2 separate regions of the Homo sapiens genome follow, and region 2 is linked to region 1. The links are contacts of gene promoters, found by promoter capture Hi-C in human tissues and cell types (Jung and others, 2019). All regions are on one chromosome and are shown on one strand. Each heading gives the region's core, a stretch centred on a gene start or on the middle of the fragment in contact. The rest is flanking DNA. Distances are from core to core; before and after follow the strand shown.

Evidence for each region. The method cuts DNA at HindIII sites, captures the fragments that hold promoters and counts their contacts. A contact is called where the count stands out against the background at its distance.
Region 2: a contact is called between a fragment that was not itself captured here and the fragment with the promoter of P4HA3 in region 1, in 1 of the 25 tissues and cell types used here (IMR-90 fibroblasts).

Annotation. Positions count from the first base shown.
Region 1 is chr11:74,308,493-74,315,720 of GRCh38, forward strand. P4HA3 (prolyl 4-hydroxylase subunit alpha 3) reads right to left here and starts at 3,148. Exons shown (of 13, transcript NM_182904.5): 1 at 2,920-3,148. The coding sequence starts at 3,119. It overlaps P4HA3-AS1 (P4HA3 antisense RNA 1), which reads left to right and starts at 2,870. Exons shown (of 7, transcript NR_120556.1): 1 at 2,870-2,957; 2 at 3,333-3,454; 3 at 3,627-3,727. The HindIII fragment of the contact is 9,884 bases long and covers 1-7,228 here.
Region 2 is chr11:74,272,242-74,279,026 of GRCh38, forward strand. It overlaps P4HA3 (prolyl 4-hydroxylase subunit alpha 3), which reads right to left. Exons shown (of 13, transcript NM_182904.5): 9 at 4,744-4,903; 10 at 1,304-1,366. Among named protein-coding and RNA genes, the nearest start is that of P4HA3-AS1, 36 kb to the right of the region's middle. The HindIII fragment of the contact is 3,974 bases long and covers 2,925-6,785 here.

The DNA of each region.
Region 1 (7,228 bases), core at 1,898-4,397:
AGAGCCACTGCACTCTAGCCTGGGTGACAGAGCAAGACCCTGTCTCTTAAAAAGCAAACATTTCACTGGGTTTTAGAGCAGTCACTAGAGAACAGAATGACAGAATGACAGTCTTCAAAATATCAAACTAAACTACAAAATTAACTGTTCATAAGTCACCTGAGAAAATAATTGAGAACTTTTCTGATTTGTTTTTTTATCTAGGCTGTCACAATCCTAGTTAATACTTAGAGCCAAAAGTGGGGCCTAGTTTCACTAGATGGTCTTAAAATAAAATAAAATAAAATAATAAGCATAAAGGCTTAGCATTTGTCCATCAATTGTTACATGCCAGGTACAATGATAAAAACTTTTACATGGTACTCTTAATCCTTCCAAAAACCCTATGGTGGTAGGTACTATTTTTATCATCATTTTACAGATTAGGAAACTAAAGCTCAAAGAGGTAAAGTAACTTGTCCAAGATCAGAGCCAACGATTCAAATAGAGGTCTGTTAAACTCCTGAATTCACTGTTAACCACCATGTACTGTGGCCACTAGTAAAACCTCAATTAGTTAGGGGCTTGGTCTATGTCTTGGTATAACAGATAAAAGAAGTGGTAGGGATAACATAGCATAGTAGGAAAAAAGTTGGATAAACAATCAAAACAACTGTGTCCTAGTCCTGGATTTGCTACCTATTAGATTTATTAATACAATCTTGAGTGAGCAACTAGACTTTAGTTTTCTCATGTTTTAACTGATTTCTCAATAGTTAACAAGTGTAATACAAATCTATTTCAAAGCATTGTGTGTGAGAGAGAATCAGATGAGATATGGTTTGTATGAGACCTCCTGCTGTGACAAAGTTGTGATAATGACAGTGGTGGAAAGACAGTGAAGGAGACCAGCATGGTGGAATGGGGTTGGCCAGCTGCTTTGGCCAAAATGCTTCAAGTGCTCTCTTCTGAGAATGTAACCTGAAAGACCAGCAGGGGGATTTTGACCCCCCACTCCCGTCTCCATCTGAGCTACCCAAAGAGATTACTGGTATGAGAACAAGCATGGGTAGCAGGGAGAATGCTGGGCTCTGAAATCAAAGAGAAAAAATTCTGTCCTATTTCCACTAATAAGCTTGGACTCCAATGACTCTGGGCTATGAACAAAAAGAAAACATTTGGCTCGGTCAACATGGACCCATAGAATACTAGACAACTATGCTATTCCAAAGAGTGACAATAATTATTGAAATGATCTTCATTTATTGTTAAAATTAATACATACCTATATTGTATATTGTCACACTATTTCAAGCTGTTTATACGCAAGCCACATACTTAAGGACAAGCACCACATTAGCTCATTCAGTCACTATTAACAAGATCTCTCGCAAATACTTTCCACCCACAAAATGCTTCTCTTCTACATAGCTCTCTCTCACAGTCATGGGGTCACAAAGTTTCGCACAGGGTGACAATGGGTTTGGGGGTCACACTGGACCTCAGAGTCACTCCCCATTCCACATACCTTCTTCTCATGTCACCCCAGAATCAGTATTATTACCACACACACTCACGCAAAGTTTTAAAAGCAGTGCATTGTGCTGTCTTTGCTCAATGATAAGGTCACATGATATAAGTACAATATTAATATATCCAAATAGTGACGTGGTCATAACCACTCTGTCAGTGTTGTAGGCTTCTTGATGTCCCAGGCAGAGAAGGCGCAGCACATATTCATACAGATGGTATCATATACAATCATTTATCTTTCATTTTTGTCAGTTGGACACTGCTAAGTCGATACATGACTATGGTGCCTCAGCATCCCAAGTCTGACAACCTTTTATGCCACAGTGTGTAGCACTAGAGTTTGTTGACTGTACCCCAAAACTATATTAGCTGAGCATCCACTGCTGTGTGCTACACTCAGTATCTTCTGCATCAAGTATGTTTTTTCACAGTGCTTTTTTGATATCAAATATGTTGACACACATATAACATCTCAGTTATCATTTATTTAGTATTTAGAGAGCTTCTACATGTGTAAAGAGAAGGAAGAACTGAAGACGTAGACGGCAGTGGACATCTCTGATTAACAGTCATGGTGCTACAGACCCAAACTCCTCGAGGGCAGAGTTGGCTCTTGATCACCATTTTATCCCCACTGCCTGGAACACTGCCTGGCTCTTAGTAGGCACTCAAAAATATGTGTTGTATGAATTAATGAACTGAAGCATTATTCATATAGCGACCTGTACAGTTACTCAGCATCATTCACATGCAGAGTATGATATCCACAGTGTCGTGCCCATCCAGTCCCAATGACATGTAAACCTCACATATGGTGGAAGACTGTCACCTGACTCCTAACACTAAACATCAGCTCACTAGGTCATGCGGTGTTTCACGATCCCCCCTTGAAAGGTCAATACTTGCGTAGCTAAAGCGTCACCGTATTCTCTCCATGTCACTCTCACAGTGTCTCTGTCACAGCACCGTCCACTGTGTCTGTGTCAGTGTGACACAGGGCCTGGGGCTCACACAGCTTTGCACAGCACATTGTGAGGTCCTAGAGTCACCCCGCCCCGCTCTTCCACAGTGTATCAACTTTGCTGTGTGACGCTGGATATGGGGGGTGCCACTATGTGTGTGATGGAGTCTGCAGTCCCAGTGTGACCCAACCCTCGCCAACACCTCATGCCACGGAGTGTCAGGGTCCCACACAGGGTGACAATGGGTCTAGGGGGTCACACTGGCCCTCAGAGCCACTCCCCACCCCATGCCACAATGTCTCAGTCGCACGGTGCGACAGTGGGTCTGGGGTCCCACGCAGCATGACAATGAGCCTGGGGTCACACTCAACCTGAGTCACCCCACCCTGCGGCACAGTGTATCCCACTGAGGCCCCTCGGTCGCTCCCACTCGTCGTGCCCTCACCTAGTCAGGTCCCGCAGCCGCGCCTCCTCCCCGCGCAGGTACCGCCTCAGCAGCCCCAGCAGCCGGCGCTCGGGCGCCAGGGCGCGCGCCACGCTGGTCAGCGCCGAGAACGTGTCGCCCCGAGCCGCAGCCCTTTCTGGGTCTCCTGTCCCGAGCGCCAGCACCGCCAGCAGCGCCGCCAGCCGCGCCCCAGGACCCATAGCCAGCGCTCGCGAACTTCCCCTCAGACAGTCCTGGCCGCGCGGCGGCAGCCGCTCCCGCCCTCGCCTGCCCCGCCCCTGTCTCCGCCCCCTCCCGGCTCAGGCCCCGCCCTCTGGCCCCGGCCCGGCCCGTCCCGTCCACCGCCCAGTCTCGCTCCACGCCCCCTGACTCCTTCCTTGTTTCGACGCCTCACCTCGCTCTCTATTCCTCAGCTCCTCGGAATGCGTGGGGGCTTCCTGCAACATCAGTCTCCGCCGCCCTCCACTAAATCGCGACCCTGGGAAGGTGTTTCCACTGTGCCCATCACACTAGGGGAAATTGAGGCGGAGGCAGGGTGAGCGATGAATTCACAGGTCTAAGGCTGTGACTATCCCCAAATATTGTTAACACCACGCTCACAGGATCCCCAAAATATCCGCCCCTCTGTACCATGGAGTGGGAATACACAAACACCACTGGATCCCCACAGGGACGTCCAGAAGAGTCAATTATGCGTATGTGAATAGGTGCGCAGGCAAAGAGCGGCAAGAGGACAGCTGGGAGGAAAACCCTCACAGAGAGCGTGACATCTGAGCCATCTGAAGGATAAGTAGGACTGTGTCAGGATGTGAGTATATGACAAATCTAGGACTTACAGAACCTGAAGCTCTGGGGTCCTAAAGTCACTGCTTTACACAATATACTTAGAGTCACTTAAGCAAATAAAAATATTATTATTATTATTATAGCCTACTAGGCTATGTACTCTATTTCCCCCCTCTTATGCATTTCCCAGGCAATGTTCATTCATGCAACAAATATTTATTAGTACCTGTGTTACTGTGCTGCCTACACAGAGAAATAGCAGATCCAATCCTGGACTCAAAGGAGGAGACAGTTATGTAAACAAGTAATCACAATAAAGTGCTGTCAGAGTAACTGAGGGTTGTGCAATATGCAATGGCAACACTGAAGAAGGAACCCTCATGTAGTGGGTGGAGAGGGCATCAGAGAGGAGGTGATGGGTGCTGGTTCAAAAGGATGAAAAAAATTGGAAGTTGACAGGCAAGGGAGGAGTGGGCTTTCCTGGCAGAAGGTACATGGGCGTGACAAGGTTTGGAGGTGGAAAACAGTTTGAGTTCCAGAAATGATGAAAAGTTTCTTGTGCTTGAAACTATCAGATTGTGAAAGGTCTTTGCATGTCATACTAAGAAATTTAGGTGCTTGTCCTCTATGAAAATCCAGTGGAAGTTTTTAAGGTAGCAATAATTGTAATAACAATGGCAACAGTAAACATAGTAGTTAATACTTACCGGGTGTTTCCTGTGTGGCAGTCGCCATCCAGAGTATTTTACATATATTAACTCATTTAATCGCTGTCCAGAGTATTTTACATGTATTAACTCATTTAATTCTCATGCTGACCCTATAGCCTAAGTAATATTAGTATTCTTACAGTATTATTGGCCCCACTTTACCGATGAGAAGACTGAATTGTAGGGACAATCATTAACCTACTCAGTGTTAATCACTTGTGGACCACATTCGAGGTGTGCTGGTAAACCAGCTCTCCAGGAAAAAAATAAAGTTCTGGTTTGTGGCATTTGCCAATTTCTGTGGTGTCAATTCTCCCACAGTGGCTAATTTCGACATGCAAAAATGTCACCACTGACTGTGGTTGGATAAAGATGCCAACAACTCCTGTGAGCTGGGGTGAGCCAGCTCCAGCACACCACTGCTTGTGTAGACATGAGATGTAACATGCAGATCCCCCTTCGAAGAAGGACTTGTTGCACAGCTGCAGGGTATGTGATGAGAAGAGTATCCAGTGGTCAGCTGCTTTAGGGTCTGTCCTATAGCAGAGAGCAGTCTCGCTTAGGGAAATGTCCTTCCTGGAACAGCCCTAATCCAGCAATGGAGCAAGGTGAGGGAATCAAGGCCTAGCCATTTTGGCCCATCGTGAGACAATTCTTACAGGAAATACTAGCTCCAGCGCACCTGCCACCTTGATCAAGGCTTTGTCAAGCCTCTTTGACTTCTTCCTCTGCCTTTTCCTGCTTCCTTTCCCTTTCGTAGATGCTGATCTCTAATAAACATCTTGCACCTCAAACTCCAGCTGTGCCTCTGCTTCTAGAAAACCCAATCTGTAACATCAATTCAATCAACATACATAGTAAGTGGTAGAGAAGGGACTTGAACCCAGGTCATGTGGATCCTGATTCCATATTCTTAATCAATACCAGAGGCAGATTTACCTAGAAGGTTTTGAAGCTTAAGCTTCAAGGCTCCTAGCTTGCACAAACCCTTTCTAACTGAGTAGCCTTCCCATAGAAGGTATTCTGACCATAGAAGATTAGGGACTGTGGTAGGCAGAATCATGCCCTCCCTCCAAAGATGTGCATGTCTTGATTCCCAAAACCCATGACTGTGTTACCTTACATGGCACAAGAGACTTTACAGATGTGATTAAGTTAAGGATCTTGACATTGGAGGATTATGCTGGTTTATCTTGGTAGTCCCGATGCAATCATGAGGGTCCTTAAAAGTCATAGAAGGAAATGTGACAATGGAAGCAAAGTCAGAAAGATTTAAAGATACTTAGTACTATATTGCTGACTTTAAAGATGAAAGAAGAGGCCACCAGTCAAGGATTGTGAACCGCTTCTAGAAGCTGGAAAGGCAAGGAAACAGGTTCTCCTCTAGTGCTTCCAAAAGGAACAGAGACCTGCTGACACGTTGATTTTAGTCCAGTGAAACCCATTTCAGACTTCGGAACTCCAGGGCTGTAAGACAATATATGTGTTGTTTTAAGCCACTGTGTTTGTGGTCATTTGTTTCAGCAACAGTAGGAAACTGATAAAGGAACCCAAAGGTATCTGCTTTGTATTGTCTCTGTCTCTTTAGCCCAAGTGGGCAGTACTTCTATTGATAAAATCATCTTAAAACCTTTGAGGATTTCCTGTAAATCTTATTGGAGTTCTTTCCGTTAGACAAAAACCATATCTATATTTCTTCCCAAGAAGTGCCCTTCTCTAACTTGGGCTGAGACTCAGGGTTGTGGTACAACAGTCTTAAAAGTCTTTTTATTTTTTTAGAGATAGGGTCTTGCTCTGTTGCAAGGCTGGAGTGCAGTGGCACGATCACGACTCTCTATAGCCTTGAACTCCTGGGCTCAAATGATCCTCCTGCTTCAGCCTCCTGAGTAGATGGGACTACAGGCACATGCCACCATGCCCAGCTCATTTTTGTATTTTTTTAGAGACGGTTTCACCATGTTGCCCAGGCTGGTGTCGAACTCCTGGCCTCAAGTGATCCACCTACCTTGACCTCCCAAAGTGCTGGGATTACAGGTGTGAGCCACCATGCCCAGCCAGCCCTAAGATTCTTAGAAGCATTTTTTTTTCCTGGTTGAAATATAAGGTACACCCATAAGATTCTTAGAGACCTTCTACAAAACCACAATATAACCACCAATATTAGGAAACTAACATTGACAAAATACTAATACCTCGAGTCCACATACCTTCTTCAAATTTTCTTGATTGTACCATTTAAATGTGTTGTGAATCTAGGATCCTATCCAGGACTATTGGTGTGCTCAGTTGTCATATCTCTTTAATGTTCTTCAATCTGGTACTGTTCTTCAATCTTTCCTTAGTCTCTGCTATCTTGACATATTTGAAGATAACAGGCCAGTTATTTTTTGGACGATCTCTCAATTTGAGTTTGTCTGACGTTTCTTCATGAGTAGATGCAACTTTGGCAGAAACACAACAGGAATAATTCTTTGTTCTCAGTGCATCATGTCAGGAGGCACAGTATGTTGATTTGTCCCATTGCTGGTGGTGTTAACTTTCAGTCCTTGGTATAAATGATGTATGCCTGGTTCCTCCAGCATAAAGTTAATGAAAAAGTATTTTCTACTTATTAATTAGTAGGTTATTAGTACTTATTGGCATTCTCTGGTCATATAGAGAATATATATATTCTCTATATTCTTCTGTCCCAGTTACTAACTTATTCATTTACTTATATCAATATGTATAAGTTCATACATGTTATTGAATGAATTATAATTAACTATTTATTTGATGTTCAAATTGTCCTGGAGTTGTCCTTGCCAACACAA
Region 2 (6,785 bases), core at 3,662-6,161, 34 kb before region 1:
ATGCATTTGCCATTTAAAATTACTGGGCTCTTATACCCACGCTACCTTCGCTATAGTAACTGGGGCCCTGTAACCAGGGAACCAGCCATAGGAGATATTGAGGGGATAAAGAACAGAGATATATTGTGCCCTAGATGCCCTGTTTTTTGGCAGCAGTTCATTCTTTCGCCGTTTGTGACCTCCCATAACAGCTGGAGTGGTCAACCAGAGATGCAACCAACTGCAGCTCCAAGATGTGTCCCCTGCCTGATAGCTGACCTCAGAATGATCAGAATGAGGCCAGACACCATTGTAAGTGGAAGCCTTCCAGTTCCATAGGAAGTACAGAACTGAGCCACATAGAGAAACACACTGGAATTGCTGGCATTAAAGACTACACAGAATGCTGGCCTCTGACTGCCCTTTCTTGGCTGTCCTGTGGAGACCAGAGACAGTCCTAATAGAAGAGGAAAAGCTGGGGTGAGGGATGTCTGCTATTCTAATGAGGCTGAAACAAGGACTTCATCTTTGGTTGTTATATAGAACCCTTATATATGTTTGTCCCTTCAGTTAACAGTAAGGTATCTCTTCTAATAAGTGATTAATTCTAATATTCTCTTCCAGTGACAGGTGATTGGAAGCTTGTCCATAGAGACGAAAGTAAACCCACATGATCTGAAGGGAAGGGGACAGGTGAGATGATACAGACTGGGGCCGAATCCTGATCAGGCCAGGAATTAGGAGAGAAGTACAATTTATTGGTTTATCTTGAAAGGGGAGTCATGGAGATTTTACTGAAGATTTTATAGAGAGATAAGGAAGAGAATTTTCACTAAACATCAGAGGCAGCACTTGCTGAATTTCTCTCAGTGTCTCTGTTCTTCCCTCTTGTAAATCTGCTGCCTCATTCCTCATCCATCTCCCTCCCCACAGCCCCACAACCTCATCTATGGGTTGTTTTTCAACACTGATTAGTCCATGAGACCTCAAGGACACAGATTCTCAGATCCTCCTCCTGTGTTGTTCAAGTCCCTCTATCTCTTGGCCTTCAGTGGAGCTCCACTTCCCATCCTAATCCACTGCCCATACCAAGGTCATATTTAGATTTACACACTGTCAGCCTCTTTCAGGGTAGAAACCTTGTCTTGTATTTCTTTACATCTCCTACAGTGCCTATCAAAAATGCTGTCTGAAATTCGCAAAATTCCTGGAGATTTTTGCGCTGAGTACCAGATAAAATCAATACGTGAAATTGCTTTGAAAACAATAAAATAAAGTAGAGCTATAGTCAGTCATGAAGTAAGAAGCCCAGAGCAATACTCACATAGATCATAAATGTTGCAACTCGGTTTCCTGACTTCATTCTGTAGAGGGGGCTGCTTGGTGACTGAGAAAAAAAAAAACAGAACATATTATTTTATGCAGATGGCACCAGAGGGACAGGCAGGATTCCACTATTAATACAAATAGAAGTAAAATGGGGGCATCAAAGATGGGATATAGTTCTGATATACACCTACTGGAGTATGTGCCCGTCTTTGCTGGCAGGTACTCAATACAATTTTTTTTTTTACTAATTTATTAGATACTTATATAAAAGAATTGTCTACTACCAAACAGAACTACTTGTCAGTAGTGAAAGTACTATATGAGGGGTTAATTGCACCTTTGAGTTCTCTGTGAAATATAGAAATTAATATATAAAATATTACAGACAATTATTCTGTAGAAATACCAAATCATAAGGCCAGAGTTCCAATTACTTGCTGAAGAGACATACTCTTTTTTTTTTGTCATGGAACAGTTTGAGATATGATTTATATTCCATAAAATTCACCCCTTGTAAGCCTACTGTTCAATGAGTTTTCCCACAATTGAAGTTTAGAACACAGAACACTTCCATCTGCTGAAAAGCTCCTTCATGCCAGTTAGGAGTCAATCCCTGCTCTCACCTCCAACCTCAGGCAACCCACTTATCTGCTTTCTCTCTATAGCATTCCATTGTGCAGATATATCAAAATTTGTTTATCCGTTCACCTGTTGACAGACATCTGGGCTGTTTCCAATTCTTGGTTTTTTTTTTGTTTTTTTTTTTTTGTTTTTGAGATGGAGTCTCACTCTGTTGCCCAGGCTGGAGTGCAGTGGCGTGATCTCAGCTCACTGCAACCTCTGCCTCCCAGGTTCATGCCATTCTCCTGCCTCAGCCTCCCAAGTAGCTGGGACTACAGGCGCCTGCCACCATGCCCAGCTAATTTTTTTTTTTTTTGTATTTTTAGTAGAGACGGGGTTTCACTGTGTTAGCCAGGATGGTCTCGATCTTCTGACCTCGTGATCCGCCTGCCTTGGCCTCCCAAAGTGCTGGGATTACAGGCATGAGCCACCGTGCCCAGCCCCAATTCTTGGTTATTACAAATAAAGCTACTATAAACTTTTCTGTACAAATGTTTGTAGAGACATATTTTCTTTTTCTTTTGGGTAATATACATAGGTGTGAAATGGCTGGATCATAAGTAGGTGAATCTTAAACTTTTTAAGAAACCATCAAACTTTTTTCCAAAGTGTCTGTATAATTTTGCATTCCCACTAGCAGTGTATGAGAGCTTCAGTTCCTCCACATCCTCACCACCACTTGGTATAATCTTATTTTATTGTAGCCATCATAAGAGAGTGCAGTGCTATCTCATTGTGGTTTTAATTTGCATTTCCCTAATGATGTTGAGCATCTTTCCATATGTTTCTTAGCCATTCATTTATCCTTTTTGGAGAGGTGCCTACTCAAATAACTTTCTGTCCATTAAAAAAAATTGAATTATCTTATTACTGAGTTATAAAAGTTCTATAGATATTTTGGATACAAGTTCTTTACCAAATATATGATTTGCAAATATTTTCTCCTAGTTGGTGGCTTGTCTTTTCCTTTTCTAATGATGTTTTTTGAAAAGCAAAGAATTTTAATTTGATAAGGTCCAATTTATCAGTTGTTTTCTTCTTTTATGGATCATACTTTGGTGTCATATCTAAGAAATCTTTGCCTAACCTGTGGTCACAAAAATTTTCTCTTATGTTTTCTTCTAGAAGTTTTATAGTTTTACATTTACATCTATGACCCATTTTGTGTTAATTTTCATATATGGTGTAAGGTAAGGGTGTAAAGTCATTATTATTTTGCAGATAGATATTAAATTGTTCCAATACTGTCTATTGAAAAGATTGTATTTTCTTCATTGAATTTCCTTGGCACCTTTGTCAAAACCAATTGATCATAAATGTGTTGGTTTGTTTCTGGACTCTGTTCTGTTCCATTGACATATGTGTCTCTCCTTACACTGGTACCACACTGCCTTGATTCCTGTAGCTCTATATTAAGTTTTGAGATCAGATAGTGTATGTCCTCCAATTTGTTCTTCTTTTTCAAAATTGTTTTGGCTGCTCTAGGTTTTTTGCATTTCCATATACATTTTAGGATCAGCATGCTAATTTCTACAAAAATAAACCTCCTGGAATTTTTATAAAGCTGGGGTTCAATTTATAGATCAATTTTGGGGAGGTCATTTTAATCCTCAAAAATCACTACTGGGTATCTACCCAAAGGAAAATAAAGTATTATATTACAGAAAAAACACCTGCACCCAGATATTTATTGCAGCACTATTCACAACAGCAAAGTCATGGAACCAACCTAAATGTCCATCGATGGTTGATTTGATAAAGAAAATAAGGTATATATACATAACAGAATACTATCCAGCCATAAAAAGAATGAAATAATTTCCTCTGCAGCAACATGGATGGAGCTGGAGGCCATTATCCTAAGTGAACTAACTCAAAAGCAGAAGATAAGATATTGCATGTCCTCACTTATAAGTGGGGGCTAAACAATGGGTACACATGGACATAAAGATGGAGGTAACAAACACTGGAAACTGCAAAATGGGGGAGGGTGAAAGGGGAGTGAGAGTTCAAAAATTACGTGTCAGGTAAAACATTCAATAGTTGGGTGATGGGTACACTAGAAGTGTGGTCCCCACCATTACACATGCAATACCCATATAACAAGTATGGCTGGGTGCAGTGGCTCACTCCTGTAATGTCAGCACTTTGGGAGACTGAGGTGGGAGGATCGCTTGAGCCCAGGAGCTCAAGACAAGCCTGGGCAACATAGCAGGACCTTGTCTCTACAAAAAAAATTTTTTTAAATTAGCCAGGTGTAGTCCTAGAGCTACTTGGGAGGCTGAGATGGGGGGATCACTTAGCCCAGGAGTTCAAGACTGCAGTGAGCTATGATGGTGCCACTACACTGCAGCCTGGGCAACAGAGCAAGATGCTGCCTATAAAGAAAAAAATAAATACATAAATAAATACGTAAATAAAAAACAAGCACATGTACCCCATGAATCTAAAATTTTAAAAAAATTATTTGCTATTATCAGCAAAGATGGCCAGTTGAGATCATGAGGCTAGAAGAGTTACTGGAGGAAGGACAATCCTCACTAGGAAGTCCCTGAGTGGAGCAGTCCGATGATTCCATGACAAGCCACATTCTTCCCTCACCAGCAAATTTTAGAAGGGAGATGGTGGCAGACAAGAAAATGAGTCAGCAACAATATGCTTGAAACTAAGGCTTTCAGATATTTCTGGAAAAAGAACCTTTGTTCTAAGATTTCACTTAGTATTCCCTGAGAGCCTACAAGAGCTCTGCCTCAGAGAAATAAATAATGCCCTGGCTCCCTACCCCAGGGGATTGGTCATTGACTCCACCATTACCGTAGCATGGTCAAAGTGAGGCTCATAGTGTCCTCCGATGCCATAGTTCACCACCTGCAGATACTCTGCATAGGGAGGCCGGACATCAAGGCCTGTGAGGGCAGCAATGCGGTGGTTGAGGGTCACCAGTTTTGGGTCAACAGTGTCCTTCAGCCAGGCACTAAAACACACCACAGATTGAAGCATCAATGATCTGTTGCCCGAAATGACTAAATGACGTCTCTGAATGAATGAATAAACAAATGAATTATGTTAATTGCCAGAAGGAAGGATGGAAGGAAGGAGGAAAGAGAGGGAGGGAAGACAGACATAAATGCCTAATTACCTATGCATTCCTCATGTTAAGTCTGCCCAGTCCACTTTGTTCTCTACCTCAACAAACTCACAGCATTGAGATACAAAGAGGAATAAGACAAAACCCCTGCCTTCAAAGCTGCTATGGTGTAGAGACATCTGAACAGAGGGACCCGGGTACAGTGGGAAAAGCTTGTGATTTAGAGAAATGTGACGAGTCCCTGATCCTCTGTGATCCTAAGTCAAGTATTTAACCATTAACCTCTCTAAGGGTCAGTGTGTTGTCTATAAAATTGGGATGATAATAATATCTACTTCACAGACTTATAAAGATTGTGAGAGGCAATGCTTATGAAGACACTTTGTGAACTATACATTAGTGTTACTTTTAAACACAGGAAAATCTCTGCTCTACTGCAAGACAAGCCAGGATAGGGCAAAGGCCAAACAGCAGAGTTCAGTCTCTTTTCCTGAATGTCTTGTTGAGGTTCTGACAAAGTGGCAACTTTGGAATCAGAATTTACGTCCCTGGGAAGTGAGAAAGTGCTCCCTAAAGCCAGTGGGTCTCCTGGGGAGACGATAAGGCTCTGAGGGAACAGCCTTGGCATGATATGGAAGACCATTTCTTTGCTCTTTGCTTTTGATGGATTAGTGTGTTCATTCTTTCAAATAGAGTGCAAGCAGAGTGCTATGCCACATGCTCTTAGGTTACAGAGATCCCCAAGACAGAGCTATTGCCTTCTAAGAGCTCATGGATTATGGGGGAAAGGACAAACACAAATATAACTAAGAACAAAGTAAGGTACAGTGAAAAATTGAGAAACAGACTTTAAAGTGCTGGGAAGCACAGAGGAAGGAGAAGTTCATTCCAGTGGGGCACTCAGGTAAGATAGTGACATTTAAGCCAAATTTTGAAGAGTGCATAAAATTTCAATAGATGGAAAAGATGTAGGAGTATTCCAGCCTGAAGAAACAGCATAAGCACAGACATGGAGGTGTGGCAATAAATTATGAATAAGGAGATAGGAAGAAGTAACGGGAGATACAGCTGGAGAAGCAGGCTCAGGGCATGACATAGAAAACTGAAAACACTGTGATATGGAATCTGGACTTTATGGATAATGGGTACTCAGTGAAGGTGTGTGAGCAGGAAAATGATTTGGCAATTAGAAGTTCCCTGGTGACCTTTGGGAGACCAGCTCCAGCGAAGTTGTGAGGACAGAACCAAAAGTCAAAGAGTTGAAGAGTGATGCAAGTGGAGAAAGAAAGTAGTTTCTTGTTCGGAAAAGGGAAGAAAATACCACCTGCTCCCCTGGAAGCAATTAACCCAAGGCTGAATTTTCTCTCTGACACTAGAATATCAGAAAGGTTAGAAAAAGCAATGAGGCTGAGGTCATAGGGACCTTCCATAGGTTAGAGAATAACTACTAATATGAAAGGCCCTTAATGTACCAGACCAAGTAAGTTAAGCCAAATGATTCTGAATCACAGCTTTCATCACTCACCTCCCTTCCCAGACAGCACAAACTGATCTCCATCCTGAGGTCTGGCCTCCCCCCAAGGATGCTGACGTCACTGTCTCACATGTCTTTGGTGGATGTAAGTAAAGGGCTGCAGTGGGGGGTGGGCAGGGCTGGAGGGGTGGGATAAAGCTGGGCTCTCACAGCTGAATCTGCTCCTCTACAGAAGCCATCAGGGCCAGAGTCTATTTGTCCTTCTGGTCTCATTCTTGGCAAGTCATGCTTTCA